Regions from separate parts of the Homo sapiens genome. Here region 2 is linked to region 1. Evidence: promoter capture Hi-C in 16 types of primary human blood cells and fetal thymus (Javierre and others, 2016). All regions are on one chromosome and are shown on one strand. Each heading gives the region's core, a stretch centred on a gene start or on the middle of the fragment in contact. The rest is flanking DNA. Distances are from core to core; before and after follow the strand shown.

Region 1 (6,883 bases), core at 2,029-4,528:
TTTATTTGAGAAATGCAGAAATAACTGTTATTCATAAAAAGCCTACCACTGTAAATAACACGTACTATAAATAACATGCTTTACACACCATAACTCTAACCTTCACAACAACTTTGAATGTTAAGTGATATGACTACCTTCGTATGTGAGGAAACTAAAGTACTAAAAAGCAAAAAAGGTAAGATTTAAACACAGGTCTGATTTCAAAACTGTTATTTCCACTGTCCCATGCACATTCACAGTCTAGTTGAAGAGACCACGTATTCAACAAATGTAAAACCATATGGGCTTGTGCAATGGGAGAGTCCCCAGAGCTTTCCCATTTAAAACTAGACCCTAGTTCCAATCCTATATGTGACCTTAGACAAGTCCCATAGATACTTTAGGTCTTGAGTTTTCTCATCAGTAAAATGAGGAGGTCAGAGTAGAAGATCCTGAGTGTTCCCTACTAGTATAATAGAAAATTTCCCTTATTAGACTGATGACTGTGGCCAAGTTTCCTCACATCTTTAAGATGGGAATATCCTGAAGACTAAATGATGTAGAGCATGGTGTAATACCACTGTGTGTCTGGTATATGGCAGCATCAACAAATGTTAGTGGAATCCAAAGTGATTATCCTGCAATAAATAGGACAATAAAGCACATGAAAAGTTTAGGCACTGAAGATATGACTGAAAAATGGACATACCATAACAGAGAAAGAACTTGAGCTAGACCCGGAAAGATACTGGAACTGAAGTATAAAGAGAAAGGAGTAGGGAGGAGCGGACCTCTTTCAAAGGCCAAAGCCACCAAAAAGTATGGACATAAACAAACTTTATGATCCGTGAGAGACAAACTTGTGACTGAGTCTCCTACTTGAAAAGCAAGTTAAGTCCAAAACTTTTTCCTTTAGAAATGTTGAAGATGCTCACGCCTGTAATCCCAGCACTTTGGGAGGCAGAGGCGGGTAGATCATGAGGTCAGGAGATCAAGACCATCCTGGCTAACACGGTGAAACCCTGTCTCTACTAAAAAATACAAAAAATTAGCCGGGCGTGGTGGTGGGTGCCTGTAGTCCCAGCTACTCAGGAGGCTGAGGCAGGAGAATGGCATGAATCCAGGAGGCGGAGCTTGCAGTGAGCCGAGATTGCGACACTGCACTCCAGCCTGGGCAACGGAGCAAGACTCTATCTCAAAAAAAAAAAAAAAAAAAAAATTTTTTTTTGTTTTTTGAAGATGCCAGGATGTCATAAAAGCATTGTGATCTGGGAAACTTAATCTGGCACTGGCAGATGGATGAGTGGAGAAAGGAGAGACGTCAAACAATGAAGCAAGGGAAACCTACAACGAAACCACTCCTTGGCAGGAAACCATAAAAGCCTGAATGAGAGAATGGCAACAGGGACAAAGAGGAGTTACTCTATCATGTTCTATGATATTTTACACTTTATCAACTATTTAGAATAGTGCCTTTCTTTGTTCCATTATTATATTCCATTAACAGAGATGAGACTATACCAGTCCGGATGATGGTAAAAGAATCCTTAAAAAGGAAAATATAATTAATTTCGGTTATCGATTCTGGTATGAAATTGGCACCCAGAAAAGAAAGCCCAAAGTAAATTTAAATGTCTAATTCCCGGATTGATAGCACAGAATTTAAAATATATACATAGGCTCGGTGGGGCAGCTCACGCCTGTAATCCCAGCACTTTGGGAGGCCGAGATGTGATCACCTGAGGTCAGGAGTTCGAGACTAGCCTGGCCAACATGCTAAAACCCAGTCTCTACTAAAAATACAAAAATTAGCCAGGTTTGGTGGCAGGCACCTGTTAACAGTGAGCCAAGATCATGCCACTCACTCCAGCCTGGGTGAAAGAGCAAAATAAAAAGATATATATACACACACACACACACACACACACATATATATGCATGTTTCTTATCAAAATAATACATTTTTTAATCAAAAGAGCACCATTAAAACACAGTCATGCACTGCATAATGACATTTTGATCAGTGACCAACCGCTCATACCATGGTGGTCTCATAACAGTATAATGGAGAATATACAGAAACCTGATATATGGCACTGGATACCGGCAATGCAGATCAAGTAGATGAAATGACTGATATTCAGTAATGGTGCTGGGACATTTGGTTTTCCATATGAAAAAAATATATAAACAAATATACACATACCATCTAGGTTTGTGTAAGTACACTCTATAATATTCGCACAAGGACTAAGTCATCTGACAAAACATATCCCAGAACATATTCCCGACGCTGACTGTATATACTTCTTGTAAAGCAGCAAGTGCTTATATTCATTATTTACCTGCTTCTGTTTATGGCAATCTCTTTACTCGACCTTTTCTCAATTTGACATAGAACATTATAAAAGATACACAGAAGAAGAGCCAGTATTTTGGTGTGATCTCAGAACTAATTTACAAATTCAATTAATATTTGTATCGAATGCAGATTTTTAAGGCATTTGGGAAGTTCAAACTCAATATGGTAAATTTTTAAACTGGACAAAAACCATACAACAGAAAAGTCCCATTAAGTAAAGCCTATTCATGCCTTTTCATCTCTGTAGGAGAGAAAGCCTGGTGTATTGGGAAATGATTGAGATTTTCCTTACCCTGATTTCTACATTCCTTGATTTCAAGTTAAAGCGTATCTGAAGTCCCAAATGTTCCACAATAGGAGTAAATATCTTCATCCAGTTTTCTTTCAATGGTGTGTATCTGTTAGCTGGGACTGGAATTTTCCTTGTTTCTTCTTTCCCACTCTGTAAATAAAAGAACACACAACTCAGAAGGCTATGGAGGGACGGTGATGGAGTTTAAAATGACATCTGATCCACAAAGGGCCTCCTTTAACTGAACTAGTTACACTTCAAAGAATCACTTCTCTCTGAGCATCACGGCAGAACAGCCCCACCGCAGCTTCAACATTCTCCAGAGGCCATCGGCTTGATCCGCGTCTGGCCCTTGCCTCGTTGCTGTCCTAGGGTCCCAGCCACATACCAGGAGCCCGTCCCCACAGAGGGGTGGGAAGACGGGCCTCTTCGCCGGCCTGGCCTCCTCTGTGTCCATGCGGCCCGCATCCCCGCCCTCTCCTGCTGCGGACAGCTGTTCAGCCTGTCGTTTCTTCGCCCGTCGGCCACCCTTGCGGGTGACCTGGGTAAAGCCCTCCTCTGCCCTGGCGCTCTGCGTTTCCATTTCGGATTCCATCCCCGGAAATCTTAAAGCGCTGCCGGCTGAAACACGTGCGCAGCTGCACCACGCAGAAGCCAGCCTCAGCCAACCACCCCTGCAGCTCCGCCCCTTTCCTAAAACGTCACAGGCCGGGGACCTGCAGGATTTGGGGCCGGTGGGGGGGAAAACGGGGTTAGGCTGTCCTAAGATATGCCTGATGGTCTTGGGCTCACTCCAGCCGCGCAACTCCCAGCCCAAGTATTTTGTAATCTCTAGTATGTATGTGTGCGAAAGGCAGTGGGTAAAGGCGATAAACAAATTCGTGCTGTTGTGAAGGAACATTCTGTGCGATCGCAGGAGCGCATCTGGCATTATCCGGGGATAACTACAGCCAACATGCCAGGGCATCTGGGGCAGAATACGGAAAGCGGGAGGGACAAATTGCCAATGTTTGGAGTCTGGTTTCCAGGTTGCCGTTTTTGGGGGCTCTGGGTGTGGCGGTTGCCGTAGCTGAAATTGGCTGCACCATGTCGGCCTTCGAGAAGCCTCAGATCATCGCCCATATCCAGAAGGGCTTCAACTACACGGTGTTTGACTGTAAGTGGGTGCCCTGCAGCGCCAAATTTGTGACCATGGGCAACTTCGCACGGGGCACCGGCGTCATTCAGCTGTACGAGATCCAGCACGGGGACCTGAAGCTGCTTCGGGAGGTGGGTGCCGGGTCGAGGATCCGGACTGCCGTTGGGGGCGAGTGCGGATCCTGGGGTCTGCATTCCTCTTTGCCAGAGCCTTCGCCCAGCGTCCCCCAAAGCATGGCTTGAGCCGCGCGAGACCAGAGAAGCTGACCGCCGACTGAGGAATGTTTCCTATTTAAAACCTTTCTTCTCATCCGCGGGGTAGTTCCTCCGCGCCCAACCGTCCTGCCACCCCCAGTGCAGTCCAGCCAAAGCGGGCACCAGGATGCCTGCAGTGTGGTTGGAAGAGGCAACCTAACACATTCGACAGGCATCAGCTGAGTGCCTGGTATTCCCAGGGATGTGAATGGTAATGTCCCCCATCTCATGGAGTTTATTTTCTAGTGGGAGAGATACTCAGTTCAATAATCAAAGCAACGATACATAAATACAAACCGAGATGAGTTGTCTCACACAAAGGAACACGGTTACGGTTCAATGAGAGTGAAAACAGATTTGGGATGAATGAAAACAGATTTTGGTATGTGCAGAAGCTAACTAGGTCAAACTAGGAGTAAAGGACAAGGTTTCCAGGGCTTCTGCACATGCAGAAGCTCAGTGATGGGAAGAAGTTTATCTCCTTAAGAAACTAGAGGGATAAGCAGGAACCAGACATTGCAAGATCTGTAGGACATTCAAAGGATTTATGCCTTTTTTCTAAGAAAAAACGGACACAACTGAAAGGATTTAAGCAGGGTGTGGAAAGATTAGGTTTGCAAGGTTTTTTTGAAGATTACTAGTGAAAGAATTAGAGAATAATGATAGTAACTAGCATTTTATAGCTGTTTATAGTTTTTAAAAAGTGTTGATTTTGTTACCTGAAAAAATGATCAGTCATTATCAGATCAGGGTTGTAATAGACTACAAGTGCAGGGTAGGTTAACTCTGGGGATCAAAACCTATGGAGAGAATCTGCTTGGAGGAGGTAGGGATTAAACTGGTAGATAAAGGATGAATACAATTTGGACTGTTAAGCCTAGAATAGAAAGTATGTAAGACCCCATCCCGCTTTAAGTTTCCCTGAATGACAAACATGAAACATGGCTTATTTTTTTCTACCTTTCCTTCGTTCCTTGTATTGTTCATCACTTAGCTTCTGGTAACCAGTGGCTTTTTTTTTTTTTTTTTTTTTTTTGAGACAGGGTCTCAATCTGTCACCCAGCCCGGAGTGCTGTGGTGCAAACACAGCTCACTGCAACCTCCGCCTCCCCACCTCAGCCTCCCAAGTAGCTGGGACTACAGGTGTGTGCCACCACACCTAACTAATTTTTTTGTACTTTTTATTTTTTTATTTTTTATTTTGGTAGAGATGGGGTTTCACCGTGTTGCCTAGGCTGGTCTCCAACTCCTGGGCTCAAGCAGTCTGCCTACATCGGCCTCCCGTAATACTGGGATTACAGGCGTGAGCCACCAAGCCTGGCTACCTGTTGCTATTCCAATGTTCAGTTCAGATTATCTAATGTATGATGCCCTTCCTGATTTCTACACAAAGTAAAATTTCTTTACATTGCATTTTGGGTTGTTTTTGTTTTTTGTTGTTGTTGTTTAGGGATGGCGTAGCTCTGTCCCAGTCCGGAGTGCAGTGCTACTGTCATAGCTCATCGCAGCCTGGAACTCCTGGGCTCAAACCATCCTCCCGCCTCTCCCTCCCAAAGTGCTGGATCAGGTGTGAGCCACCATTAAAAAGAAAAGGTATTTAAAGGATTTATTCCTTTTTCTTTTCTTTCTTTCTTTTTTTTTTTTGAGACGGAGTCTGGCTCTGTCACCCAAGCTTGAGTGCAGTGGCGTGATCTTGGCTAACTGCAACCTCTGCCTCCCAGGTTCAAGCGATTCTCCTGCCTCAGCCTCCCTAGTAGCTGGAATTACAGGCACATGCTACCACGCCCAACTAATTTTTTTGTATTTTTAGTAGAGATGGGGTTTCACCATGTTGGTCAGGCAGGTCTCAAACTCCTGACCTTAGGTGATCCACCCGCCTTGGGCTCCCAAAGTGCTGGGATTACAGACATGAGCCATTGCACCTGGCCATTTATTCCTTTTTCGAAGAAAAATGGGACATGATTGAAATTTTTTTTTTTTTTTTGAAACAGGGTCTCACTCTTGCCTACGATGGAGTGCAGTGGCAGGATCAGGGCTTAGACCTGTGACTTTTTAAAATAAGAACAGGCCTGGTGCAGTGGCTAACGCCTGCAATTCCAACACTTTGGGAGGCAGTGGGGTGGATTGCTTGAGCCCAGGAGTTCAAGACCAGCCTAGGCAACATGGGGAAACCCCGTCTCTACTTTTTGTATAAAAAAAATACAAAAATTAGCTGGGCATAGTGATGCGAGCCTGTAGTCCCAGCTACTTGGGAGGCTGTGGTGGGAGGATCTCTTGAGCCCAGGAGGTCAAGGATGCTGTGTTCGCACCACTGCACTCCATCCTGGGTGACAGAGAGACCCTGTCTCAAAAAATAATAAAATGAAAATATATGATTTGTATGTATTTCAAAAGTACACTTACTCCATCAAGTGGAATAGAGTAGTTTGTCTTTTGTAGCGACTCTGGGGAATTTCAGCAAATTTTAAAAAGATAATTTTCTTTTGTAGCAAAAATAATATGTGTCCACGATAGAACATTTAGAAAATAGGAAAACGAAGAAAATATCACCCATAATCTCAATGCCAGGAATAACCACTAAGTGTATTTTCACGCCGGGTGTGGTGGCTCACGCCTGTAATCCCAGCACTTTGGGAGGCCGAGGCGGGTGGATCATGAGGTCAGGAGATCGAGATCATCCTGGCTAACACGGTGAAACCCCGTCTCTACTAAAAATACAAAAAATCAGCCGGGCGTGGTGGCGGGCGCCTGTAGTCCCAGCTACTCAGGAGGCTGAGGCAGGAGAATGGCTTCAACCTGGGAGGCAGAGCTTGCAGTGAGCCGAGATCGCGCCACTGCACTCCAGCGTGGGTGAC
Region 2 (6,883 bases), core at 1,861-4,360, 1.2 Mb before region 1:
TTCTTTCTCTCTCTTTCTTTCTTTCTCTTCTTTCTTTTCTTTCTTTCTTTTTTCTTTTTTTTTTTTTTTTTTTGTGACGGGGCCTCTCTCTGTCGCCCAGGCTGGAGTGCAGCGGCATGATCTTGGCTCACTGCAGCCTCTGTCTCCGGGGTTCAACCTCCCGAGTAGCTGGGATTACAGGGGTGTACCACCACACCTGGCTAATTTTTGCATTTTTGGTAGAGGTGGGGTTTCACCATGTTGACCAGACTGGTCTGCTGACCTCAGGTAATCCACCTACCACAGCCTCCCAAAGTGCTGGGATTACAGGAGTGAGCCACCTTACCCGGCCCTAGTTAAATTTGCCTAAAAGATTATTTTATTTCAACGTTGTGCATTGTTGAAGCAGAAGAATGAGGATTGAAGATTCTGATGTGCTTTTTTTCAATCAGATATACTGATAAAATTGATATGTTTACCAGCTTGTATTGGGATGTTAATAAGTGTTAGGAAAAAAGATCCTCTGGTCCAGTAAATTTGGGAAGCAACATATTAAATCGCGTGGTAATGTTTTGTTTTGTTTTTTGATTGGAGGATTTCTTGGAATCTTTAATGTATTAATAATAAGCATTGAGAATCTCCCAGAGAAGAATAGTGTGTCTATTTTCCAAATTTATTTTATCTTCCTTTTTCTTGGTAGTTTGGAATATACTTTGTCCTTTTTATTTGCATTATTTTTGGTTTTGCTGAGTGTCAAGTCACTTAAGCTATCCCTAGCTTTTAACAGATTTTGCTATTGTTTTTATAAATGTGAAGTTATACCCTTCTGATTCGACGGTGTATATAAAATGGAATTTTGGGGATGGGCGCGGTGGCTCACGCCTGCAATCCCAGCACTTTGGGAGGCTGAGGTGGGTGGATCACCTGAGGTCAGGAGTTTGAGACCAGCCTGACCAACATGGTGAAACCCTGTCTCTACTAAAAATCCAAAAAAATTAGCCGGGCGTAGTGGCGCATGCCTGTAATCCTAGTTACTCGGAAGCCCGAGGCAGGAGAATCTCTTGAACCCAGGAGGTGGAGGTTGCAGTGAGCTGAGATAGTGCCATTCTACTCCAGCCTGGGCGACAAGAGTGAGAGACTGTCTCAAAATAAATAAATAAATAAGTAAATAAATAAATAAATAAATGGAATGTTTGCAAATGAGATCCTTTTTAAAAGCAGTAAAGGAACTTGCAATTTTAAAGTATCCTAAAATGAATTTTTCAAAAGTTTTTTGTAATTATACTGTCTAATGGCTTTGGAGATAATTGAGGGATGCTGAGATTGGCTGCTAGGATTGGTCATAAAACCAGTACTATTAACATATCCTTACATATACTGGATATGAAGAAGTTGTGAGAGAAAATAATTGCTTAATAAGCATTTCTTCAATTGTCCCCTGGAAATGGAGGTTAATAGGTTCTGGTAATGAGCAGTAGAAGGCGGGAAAGGGTTTTGTAACACAAGTTTGGGAAATTCTGCTCTTGGAGATTCACAATTAGCAAGATTAAAGGTTCCAGAAAGTTCTAAATATATACCTAACTTTAACCAGGTAGTTCTTAAACCTTTAATTATGAAACCTTTCTTTACTTCATTCCTTTTTAGCATCCGGTGAAATAGTGTTCTGTTTCTGTGGTTTGAGAATTTTTTGACCGTATATTTCAGGTGCCTAGAAAGTGTTAGAAGATACTTGCAGGTATTTGAAATGATGGCTTTATACTTGGCACTCTGCCCTTTGCAGAGATGACTAAAATAAGAGAGTTGCCTTCAAGAAATTGCTGCCTGATCAGAGGAAAGAAAATGAATGCACATGCAACAGCTTCAGGTGAAAATACACAGTCCTTGTTCATTGCCATGTCATAGACCACAAGTAGAATGAGTAGAAATTTAGAGACTGGAGAGCTCTGGGGTTTGGGTTTCTGTGTTAGGTTCAGGAATGTTCTGGGTGATGGGGCAGGACTTTTACTCAACTTGTAGAGTATTAGTATACTGTGAGAGGTAATCATTAATGGCATATGTTAACCGTCAGTGAATGGAGGCGGAAATAGTTTGAGAACTACTACCAGATGAAGGAGGAAATAGAAGTGCCAGGAAAACAGACCAAGGAACAGTGGTTAAAGGCAGAAGAGTTCCAAAGTAGTATATTGCCTTGAACAGAGTCTATAAAAGTAGAAAAAGGTCATTCATATGTAATACTGCAGAGAAGTTAATTGGATATGGTTATGAAGAAATTATTAGAGAAATTGCATATGTCAAGGCAGAAGGGTCTCAGTTTGTGTTTAGGAGGAGGGCTGCAAGTAATATGAAAAAGAAGAGGATTTTGGGATTGAGGTCCCCTGGGAGTGTTGAGAAGTTGAATTCTAGAGCTGTGGTTCCTGACCTACAAGCCCTGAAGTTGTTACAGGGTGTTCATTGCTTATTCATATGCTTATAACTTTGTCTGTAAGTTGAATAAAGATTGTTCTAGATCATTGAATAATAAAAATTTAACCCATTGTTGTGAAGGAGCCTCAGAATATTTTGATGTTAACAAAAGAGTTCTGTATTTACAAAGTTGGAGAAACACTCATCAAGAGTTAGGAGTAAGGCCCAGTGTGGGGTTCCCTCTGGTAATACCAGCATTTTGGGAGGCTGAGGTGGGCGAATCACTTGAGGTCAGGAGTTTGAGACCAGCCTGGCCAACATAGCGAAGCCCCATCTCTACTAAAAATACAAAAATTAGCCAGCTGTTGTGGTACGCACCTGTAATCCCAGCTACTTGGGAGGCTAAGGGAGGAGAAGTGCTTGGACCTGGGAGGTGAAGGTTGCAGTGAGCTGAGAACACGCCACTGTACCCCAGCCTGGGTGACTGAGTGACACTCTGTCTCAATTAAAAAAAAAAAAAAGAGTTATAAGTAGCCAGTGTTTTGGCTTACACCTGTAATCCCAGCCACTCAGGAAGCTGAGGCAGGAGGATTGCTTGACGCTAGGAGTTCAAGATCAGCCCGGGCAACATAGTGAGATCCCATCTCTATTAAAAAAAAAAAAATTAGCCAGGCATGGTGGTGCATACCTGTAGTCCAGTCTACTTAGAAGACTGAGGTGGGAGGATTGAGTCCAGGAGTTTGAGGCTGCAGTGAGCTATGATTGTGCTGCTGCACTCCAGCCTGGGTACTGGGTGACAGAGCAGGACTGTTAAAAAAAAAAAAAAAAGTTACAAGTAGGGGAGAGGCTAGCTTCAGAGAGTAGTATGTGTAATATGTCTCTCTTGAGATTACAAGGAAGGATGAGAAGTATTTATATATTGTTAAACTGTTGAAAAGAAGATGGGTGAGGGGCAGTGACTCATGCTTGTGAACTCAGCATTTTGGGAGGCTGAGGTGGGAGGATCACTTGAGGCTTGGAGTTTGATACCAGCCCGGACAGCATATTGAGACCTTGTCTCTATATTTTAAAAACAAAAAAAGAAAATGAAGACTTTAATTCTGGCCAGGCGCAGTGGCTCACGCCTATAATCCCAGCACTTTGGGAGGCCGAGGCGGGCAGATCACCTGAGGTCAGGAGTTCGAGACCAGCCTGGCCAGCGTGGTGAAACCCTGTCACTGCTAAAAATACAAAAATTAGCCAGGCGTGGTAACACACGCCTGTAATCCCAGCTGCTGCTCAAGAGGCTGAGGCGGGAGAATCGCTTGAACTCAGGAGGTGGAGGTTGCAGTGAGCTGAGATAGCGCCACTGCCCTCCAGCCTGGGTGACAGAACGAGACTCTGTCTAAAAAAAAAAAAGACTTTAATTCTATAAAGTAAGAATCTACCAAAAATGAAAAAGAAGCTGGGAAGAGAAAATGAGGATTTGAGAGTAGTATGTAGCTTAGACTCTAAAATAATATCTGGGAGAAGTTTGAAAGTTAAGCAAGTGATGAATTAATAGGATTGGTCAGCAGTTCGGAGGGCCCATCCGAAAGTGGACCGAAATGGATAGGATAGATGAGTTCTCCTTGGCTGTCATAGTTCAGTGTAGAGATGCTCAGAGACTAGGAGTCAGAGCACAGTGGACCCAGAGGGTTTGACTTGGCAGTATGATGAAAAATTGTAGTCTGATGTGAATGGTCAGAAGAGAGAGAGATGGAATATTTGAAGATTGTGAGCAGGAAGTACATGCTTTTTTTTCTCAAGAAAGATGATGACATAGGTTGACTGTGAGGGAATGTATAGAGATGTCATGACTTAACTAGTGATTTGAGCTCCAGAATGTTAAATGTGCAAGAGACGTGTCATGGAGCCCCTTCTAGTGGCAATAGTTACAGTAAAGTAGGGGAGACATGAACCAATTAAACACACAAATAATTGAAAGTCTTAATTGTTTCACTCCATATGTTATTTTTGTATGTGTGATTTATTTTATTTTACTTTTACATTTTTTATTTTTTTGAGACAGAGTCTCACTGTGTCGCCCAGCCTGGAGTGCAGTGGCGCAATCTCGGCCCACTTCACCCTCTGCCCCACCTCCTGGGCTCAAGTGATTCTTCTGCCTCAGCCTCCTGAGTAGCTGGGACAGGCACGCGTCACCATGCCTGGCTAGGAATTTTGTATTTTTAATGGAGACGGGGTTTCACCATGTTGGCCAGGCTGATCTCGAACTCCTGACCTCAAGTGATCCACCCTCCTCAGCCTCCCAAATTGCTGGGATTACAGGCGTGAGCCACGGCATCTGGCCTTTATATGTGCTTTTAGGATTGTAGAAGATGTACCTTGGCTGGATGCATTGGCTCATGCCTGTAATCCCAGCACTTTGGGAGGCCGAAACAAGAGGATCGCTTGAGTCCAGGAGTTCGAGACCAGCCTGGGCAATGTAGTAAGACCTCATTTCTACAAGAAATAAAAAAATAACTGGGCGTGGTAGCTTACGTCTGTAATCCCAGCTACTCCAGAGGCTGAGGCAGGAGAATTGCTTGAACCTGGGAGACAGGTTGCAGTGAGCCAAGATCGCATCACTATACTCCAGCCTTGGCGACAAGAGCAAAACTCCATCTCAAAAATTAAAAATAAATAAGTAAATAAATAAATAAATTACAGGCACATTAGCATGTGCCTGTGGTCCCAGCTACTTGGGAGGCTGAGATGAGGGGATCACTTGAGTCCAGGAGGTGGTGGTTTTAATGAGCTGGGATTGTGCCACTGTACTCCAGCCTGGGCGACAGAGCAGACCCCTGGTGAAAAGAAAAAAGAAAATGTATCTCAAATAATACTTAATTTTAAAGAAATCTTAAATGTAGAATGTGATTCCATAATTATAATATTGACTAGTTCACTGCAACCTTGAACCCCTGGGCTCAAGTGATTCTCTCACCTCAGCCTTCCAAGTATCTGGGACTACAGGCATGCACCACCATGCCTAATTTTTTATTTTTGGTAGAGGCAGGGTCTCCCTGTATTGCCCAGGCTGATCTCAAACTCCTGCCCATGATCCTCCCGCCTTGGCCTACGAAAGTGCTGGGATTACAGGTATCTGCTACTGTGCCTGGCCTGTAGAAAAATTTATAGCTGAAGGACTGGGAGTGTGTGTATGGGAATAACAGTAGTTATCTCTGAGAAAGGGGTTGGAACCTGTGTGGAGACAGAAAGGAGAGATTTTCACAATTCTGTAGCATCTGTATAGTTTTAATATTTATTTATTTATTTCAAATTTTAATAGAGACAGGGTCTTGGTATGTTGCCCTGGCTGGTTTCGAACTCCTGAGCTCAAGTAACCTCTGCCTCTCTTCCCACAGTGCTGGGATTACAGATGTGAGCCACTGCTCCTGGCCTACTTTGAATTTTTAATGATGGTGATGAATTAATTTGTGACTAGCATTATAAGAAAAATAAAATTTAGAGTTTAAGTGACATTGTAGGTAGATTTTGATTCAGAAGTTTTAAGTTTAGAGAATGAATTTGAACACTTATCACTGATAAGTTACAATGTTTAGGGTCCCAAAATATTGCAGCTGTCAAATGATAAAATATATAAAAATAAAATTTAGTATTCATAAGGACATAAATGCAACCAGACATAGGAATTTTAATAATTTGACGAGTCAGTTTTCTTTTCAGTAAGGTTTAACAGTCTGTATTTGCAGCTACATTGCTTTCAACCAGGTGTGTCTAGTCTGTGATCCAGATTGCTTCTGAAATTTTGTTAGCAAGGTGCTCATAATTGCTTTTTTGTCATTGAATTTAAGTTGCCATTTATTGAGAATGATGCCTGTAGGTTCAAGCATCTGCTTCAGTTATGGAGTTATTTTATTCCAAGTATATTCCATTAGTAAGAAAGCTTACACTTGTGAAGTGCATGCTGATTTGGGGGTAGAGAATCTATGCTTATACAGCTACTGTGTGTGCTCTTAGAGCAATTACTGAAGAGTGGCGGAAAGTTGATATTAGGCTTTTGTCATTACCTTACTTAAGAACTGTTTATTGGGAGTTTAGGCCGGGTGCAGTGGCTTATGCCTGTAATCCTAGCACTTTGGGAGGCTGAGGCGAGTGGATCACCTGAGGTCAGGAGTTCGAGACCAGCCTAGCCAACATGGCGAAACCCCATCTCTACTAAAAATACAAAAAATTAGCCGGGCATGGCGGCGGCCACTGTAATTCCAGCTACTTGGGAGGCTGAGGCAGGAGAATTGCTGGAACCTGGGAGGTGGAGGTTGCAGTGAGCTGAGATGGCGCCAGCCTTGGCGACAAAGCGAGACTCTGTTTCAAAAAAACAAAAAACAAAAAACTGTTTATTGGGAGTTTTGATAAGACAAGTCAAAGACCTGAAAATAGAGGTCAGACTAACGATTTCTGCTCTAACAAGCATCATTGTGAGTTGTGAATGCCTCCCTTGTGAACATGCCCTGTGTACCTG

Evidence for each region. Contacts are between HindIII fragments. The CHiCAGO score rates a contact against its expected background, and 5 or more counts as called.
Region 2: a contact is called between a fragment that was not itself captured here and the fragment with the promoter of PNO1 in region 1, in 1 of 17 cell types (neutrophils). The highest score is 6.0, in neutrophils.

Annotation. Positions count from the first base shown.
Region 1 is chr2:68,154,283-68,161,165 of GRCh38, reverse strand. It overlaps PNO1 (partner of NOB1 homolog), which reads right to left and starts at 3,278. Exons shown (of 7, transcript NM_020143.4): 1 at 3,025-3,278; 2 at 2,637-2,786. The coding sequence starts at 3,231. It overlaps DNAAF10 (dynein axonemal assembly factor 10), which reads left to right and starts at 3,639. Exons shown (of 8, transcript NM_138458.4): 1 at 3,639-3,905. The coding sequence starts at 3,723. RefSeq lists enhancers at 2,967-3,066, 3,347-3,586, 3,867-4,006, 3,464-4,396. The HindIII fragment of the contact is 6,016 bases long and covers 1-5,702 here.
Region 2 is chr2:69,377,884-69,384,766 of GRCh38, reverse strand. All of the region lies in intron 1 of GFPT1 (glutamine--fructose-6-phosphate transaminase 1), which reads left to right. Among named protein-coding and RNA genes, the nearest start is that of GFPT1, 5.9 kb to the left of the region's middle. RefSeq lists an enhancer at 3,247-3,296. The HindIII fragment of the contact is 6,399 bases long and covers 1-6,309 here.